Linked DNA regions of Homo sapiens: region 2 is linked to region 1. Evidence: promoter capture Hi-C in 16 types of primary human blood cells and fetal thymus (Javierre and others, 2016). All regions are on one chromosome and are shown on one strand. Each heading gives the region's core, a stretch centred on a gene start or on the middle of the fragment in contact. The rest is flanking DNA. Distances are from core to core; before and after follow the strand shown. Region 1 holds the start of HEY2 (hes related family bHLH transcription factor with YRPW motif 2). Region 2 has its middle 2.2 kb from the start of HSF2.

Region 1 (3,046 bases), core at 306-2,805:
TAGGAAAATTAAAACTCATTTTATTACTAGGTGAATGTTTTACTTTGAAAATGAAACTGTAGGTGTGTCTCAGACTTTAGGCTAAGCTTAAATCTCCAGAAGCTGCAATGCACCTTGGATTTACTAATGAAAATATATTTTTATATTGAAGGTTCAATCAAAGTATTATTTGGTCACATAATTTTTACAATCCTTTCTAGTTTGTATCTGTTTCTCTTCATAATTCATGGATACTATGCTTCTTTGTGTTCTCAAATTCCCCAGGTTCCTGTTATTTGTTCTCTTTCATTTTAGAAATGCTGCACACACCAGGTTGCTATTACCTCACCTTCTCACTTCTGGATCTTATTTCTGAATTACCTGTCCCCCTCATTTTCACCCCTTCTTTACGGGTTTCACCTTTCACGTGATAGCTTCTGTTTTTCAGACCTCATTTTTAAAGACGGCACAACAACACTTTAATGATCAGATACTTAAACCTTTGCTTTCGTGTAAATATCTTTGCTCTTGCAGATTTTGTGCTTTGCTTTGTATGTATTAGAATAACAATATGAAAGAAAACCAGTTTTCCAAAGGTAGGAAGAATTTCCCTCTTTGAGTGACAGCTGCAGATAAATAATTAAGGTGCTTCTGGGGATGCCAATTAGAAGCAATTATCATTTGACCCGCCTTGGCTCTAAAATGCCTCGGTAATCTCCCTCTGTCACAGGAAAGTGGAGGTCTGGCTTCTGTGATTACGACGCCGATCTCTTCCAGACTTGAGAACAAGCAGTCAAAGAAATGATGCCCTTTCCGATGCTTACATCTGTCACTCACTCTTGCGTTAGCCAAGTCACACACGGTCAACCTGCAAAGTTCAACCTACGTAGCCTTGACATCGCAGGTTGCTTTAATTCCTCCAAAAATCAAGTTGTGATTTTGGTATCTCTAAAAATCAAAAATCAAATTGTTTTTATTTTCTCCTGATCTATTTTGAAAGTGCCCCCAAATACGGTTTCAGTGGCTGGGACATCGCCTGTCGCCCAGACGCTGCCGTTCGCGCGTCCAACTGTGACAGCCAGGACCCTCCCTCGCCAACTCCTGCGCTCTGCCTTTCAGTGGCGTCTCCCATCCTGGCTACTCCACCCCTACGGTGAAAATCCACATCCCTTGCCCCATCCCAACTCACGCTCTGCGAGCGCCCACCACTCAAACTTTCTCAGGCCAAACTTTCCCTCTCTACCTAGATGCTGCGGAGACCAGCCTCGGGATTTCCAGGGAGCCACGCATTCACAAAGCTACCCCAAGCTCCCGAGCTGCGGGCCGCTCCCGCGGAGCCCGCGCTCACCCCGAGTAATTGTTCTCGCTCCCCACGTCGATGGTCTCGTCCATGTCGCTCTCGGAGGTCGTCTCCTCGCAGGGGCGCTTCATCCCGGCGAAGACCGCGCGGGGCACAGCCCGGCCGGAAGCTCGGACGCCGAGCGGGGCGCAGCACCCTGACGCCCGCCTCCTCCCTCCCCGGGCCTGGGCAGGCGCGGCTCCGGCGGCGGCGCGGTCTGCTCCTAGCGGCTCTTTCCCACGCCGCAACTCTGCTCGGCCGCAAGAGCCGGCGCCGGCCACGCCCCCCCCTCGAGCGGGTGGGGCCACCTCACCCGCCCCCGCGCACCGGCCCAGGCCTTCCGCCCGGCACCTCCCCCTCGCTGGTCGGCGTGGCTCGCGATTGGCTGGGCCAGGGGGCGGGGCCGCGCTCGCCAATGCCCGCCGCAAGGCTCCAGCCGAGGCGTGGGAACGCGGCCGCGGACCTGGTACCCCAGAGCAGCGAGCGGGTGGGGAGCAGCCGGGGCGAGAATGAGCGCAATCTTGCTAACCCCTGCGGAGGGAGCGCGCGGGCGCCAACGCGGGCGCGCGGGGGCGGGCCCTGGACCTGGACCTTGGGTTTCGGCCCTCCTCCGCGCCCCGCGGTCTCGCGGGCGAAGTTTCAGTCCTGAGTGTAAAGAATAACCCCAAGCGCGTGGCTAAGTGCGAGCAGGCGCGTGTGACGTCGGGAGGCGCCGCGGCTCCTCGGCCGCCCCACTCGGTGGTCCCCTGTCTGGATCCAAACTGCTGACTGGCTGACCCGAGTGGTCACATTTGCCCTCTGGGGCTTTTGAAAACCTTAAATCAAAATTGCTTTTGAATCTGACAACTCCTGAGGCTACTTTCGCGGCCTCGGGGCTGTTTCATATAAGGACGCGAGTTTTCCTGATCAGGTCTGTCGGCCACGTTACGATTTCCAATTTGCGATCCATCAGTTACTTCCATTGGGTCTTCAGCCCCCAGGGACTGTGGATCCTAGACCCCGCGGAGAAGCCCGTGGACTGGAGCTGTGTCAGCTCTGATGGTAGGAAAGACTAGATCAATGACGCGGGCATTTCAGGACATAATCGTATATTTTCAAGTTCGAGTTTTTCGGGCTTGGATTATCCAGATAATTGCCTCCAGTCTCCTCCAGTCCCCCTGGTGTATGCACTCGCAGCCGCAGAGTTAGAGTCCGGGAGGTGAAGATTGGCGCTTGGAAATTAGATTTGGTTTCTAAAGTATGAATTCGTGTCCAACAGTTCGTGCCTTGGACAACGTGGGTTGTATAAAACTCAAGCTGTGTGTTTAAAACAGGTTTTCTAGCTGCTGGTTCTCTCCAAGTTATGTAGGACTTTTGAACTGGCCACCCCGCTGTGCGTCTGCGAGGGCAGGGACTGAGCGAGACCCAGCCAGGGGCGCCGGGAGACTGGCGGCGGCTGGGTTGGGGTCCAGCCGGAAACCACACGTTGGCAGGGCCGCTTGGTCAGTAGTGGAGAGAGCCTCTGAGAAAGGGCCGTCTATCGATCCCCAGACCCCTCCGTCACGGAGGGATTCATAGCTTCCTGGGGATCGGCCCAGGGCGTCCCTTTGACACTCCGTTCTCTGTCCACACAAGCCCGGCGCGGGGCGGGGAGAAGAGGAAAGGACGCGACTGGGAAAGACGGGACCCTGGCGGGGTTTGGCCCGGGGGAGAGCGGGAAGGAGCCCGGTCGGCGCGGAGGACCTGCGG
Region 2 (2,792 bases), core at 229-2,728, 3.4 Mb after region 1:
ATAAAGCCTCTTGGACATTTTTCTGTATATTAAAATACACTGGTTCTGTCATTTAGAACAATTCCTTAGCCACCAGTGCCAGTTTTTTCCATTTCTTGACTGGGAATAAGATCTATCTTTTTACCCACTAAGAGTGTCTTTAATACTATAATGGCTGTGCAAATGCTTTGAAAATATGAAGTCTACAAAATTCGACTTTTTTTTTTTACAAAAGTCAGCATGTGAAGGCAAAAACTTACAAACAAGTCAGAGATAACATACAAAACTTCAACATAGGATTGGTTTACTTCTTGGGTGAATGTAAAATAGTACATTAAATATATATCTATCATTTAATGGAAGATATATGTATATCTCTTCCAATGAGCAAGTATTTAGTGAATGCTGCCTTTGTGCTCAGCACTGGGATGTTGGCTGAAGCAAAATCAGATATATGGAGGCATGCATGTGATAGAGGAAGTAATATTTGATGAGCCCTTATATATGCCAAGGGCTTTACATATATTATTGAATCCTCACAACAACCCAATGAACTAGGTTTTATTATCCCATTTTCCCAGAGAAGATTCTGAGACTCAAAAGTTGATTAATTTCTTCAGTCACAGCAAGTAAATGGGAGAGTATTTACACCCAAGCTTTATTGAGCTCAAAAGTATGTGCCCTTTCCATTGTACAATGATGACACTGTTTCAAAGCTCAAGATGCTTATATTCAAACTCAAGAAACAATATGACCACAGTGATCAGCACTCAATATATACAAAAAGAGCTAAATGTTTTGTATAAAATAAGTACTAGATAAGTTTAAAAAGACAGATTAGTAGGTTAAGGTGGTAAGGAAGGATTTCATGGCAGATAGGGACCTTAAGTTGGGTCTTGAGGTACAAATATATTTGAATAGCTAAAAGGAAGACAACAGAATGAGCAAAAACCAGGAAGCTAATGATCATGTCTGTCTATGGAGGGCAACAGCTCAGGAGGTAAGAATGGCAGTGTCTAAGGAGGAAATGTGGCCTACTTTCATGGCATTATATTATTTTCTTCTAAAAAAAGAAGGTGTGATTAGATAGAAGCAGAAACTTGTCTTTGGACATTCAAAGGCTGGGCATTCATAGGGCTGGGCTTAGTGGGGTGCCATACTTAGTTTAATGCTCTGTTCTCATCCTCTTGAAATTCTCAGTTTTTGAACAAGGGACTGTACATTTTCATTTTGCAATGGATCTTGCAAATTGTGTAGCTGATTCTGTTTCCAATGTATGGCATCTTATAGACCGTAAGTTTGAAACAAATGGTTCTCAAACTTAAGCATGCGTCTGAATCACTTGGAGAGGGAAGCCTTCCAGTAAGCAAATGAGCAATATCACTTATCAGGTAGTATTTGTAATACTTATAAGGGCAGTGACAAGGATAAGTTATTAACCAGATAAGAAAACCTTGGCACCAGAAAACTTAGATGATGTATCCAAAATCATCTAGTTAAGGTTGGAATTGAAACCAGGTCTTTCGTAGTCTGAAACATGCTTTTTAAATTTACACCAATGTGTCTCAAACTTTAGCGCAGAATCACCTGGACAGCTTCTTAAAGAACAAATTGCTGCTTTTGCTTCCATGGCTCTCAGTAAGTCTGGGGTACAGGTTAAGAATTTTTATTTTTAACAAGTCCCAGATGACGCAGATGCTACTGGCCCTGGGACCGCATTTTGAGAATTGCTGTTATAGAGGAAAAATTAGTAAACTGAGCTTCCCTTACTACTAAGATGTACAGATTTATTGTTATGCTTTACTTCTGTCTGTTTTTTTTTTTTTTTTTTTTTTGACAGAGACTTACTCTGTCATCCAGGCTGGCAGGCTGGAGTGCAGTGGTGTGATCTTGGCTCACTGCAAACTCTGCCTCCCGGGTTCAAGCAATTCTGCTTCAGCCTCCTGAGTAGCTGGGATTACAGGTCTGCACCACGAAACCTCACTAATTTTTGTATTCTTAGAAGAGATGGGGTTTCACGATGTTGGCCAGGCTGGTCTTGAACTCCTGAGCTCAAGTGATCTGCCACCTTGGCCTCCCAAAGTAATAAGATTACAGGTGTGAGCAACTGCACCTGGCCACCCTTCATCTCTTAATAAAATCCAGATGTTCCAGGAATAACTTAAACGACTATGTTTTGTTTTTCTATGAACTTATAATCGTTAATATTTATTATAATTAGTACATTTTCTGAAAAACTAAGTATTGAATGCAGACTTTTTTTGGGGAAAAGGAAATTATAACTTGGCTTGTTTGCACTTATTTATAAAACTGAGAGGGGAAGAAAACAAAATCAAGCTTTATCTCACAATTATTTGCCACCTATAATATCCCTAAAATATCAGAAGAAACAGATTTGCGCCAGTGTCGACAATTTTGACATGTTTATAACACAAGAAGATAAAAATGTCACTTTCTTAAAGGAGTTGCCTCCTGTTAACTCCAGTTTAAAAAGCTGGATTATTTTCATGGTTCATTTGCAGCCTAGAATGTAAGACTTAGATTTAGAATAACATTCAAAAATATGAATGATCCAGACCTTTGTCTAGGAAATAGAAAAGCATATTATGGAGCAATTTGATGCTTCAAATCATCAGACGATGCCATAAATTCTATCCAATCGATTTTGCAAAACTAATTGGAATCAACGGTGCAACCAGTATTAGCTTTTAAAGATTTTTTTTTCAAGGATAGGATGATTAAATCCAAAGGTGAACTGCATAGAGGTTTCCACCTATATTGCTATCTGGACAAAGTGTTGATTTTCTTCAATT

The links. The method cuts DNA at HindIII sites, captures the fragments that hold promoters and counts their contacts. A CHiCAGO score of 5 or more calls a contact.
Region 2: a contact is called between a fragment that was not itself captured here and the fragment with the promoter of HEY2 in region 1, in 1 of 17 cell types (total B cells). The highest score is 5.0, in total B cells.

The regions. Positions count from the first base shown.
Region 1 is chr6:125,748,141-125,751,186 of GRCh38, reverse strand. HEY2 (hes related family bHLH transcription factor with YRPW motif 2) reads right to left here and starts at 1,555. Exons shown (of 5, transcript NM_012259.3): 1 at 1,328-1,555. The coding sequence starts at 1,410. It overlaps HEY2-AS1 (HEY2 antisense RNA 1), which reads left to right and starts at 1,762. Exons shown (of 5, transcript NR_183491.1): 1 at 1,762-2,228. RefSeq lists a silencer at 1,337-2,046. The HindIII fragment of the contact is 5,509 bases long and covers 89-3,046 here.
Region 2 is chr6:122,396,020-122,398,811 of GRCh38, reverse strand. No RefSeq gene overlaps it. Among named protein-coding and RNA genes, the nearest start is that of HSF2, 2.2 kb to the left of the region's middle. The HindIII fragment of the contact is 1,681 bases long and covers 638-2,318 here.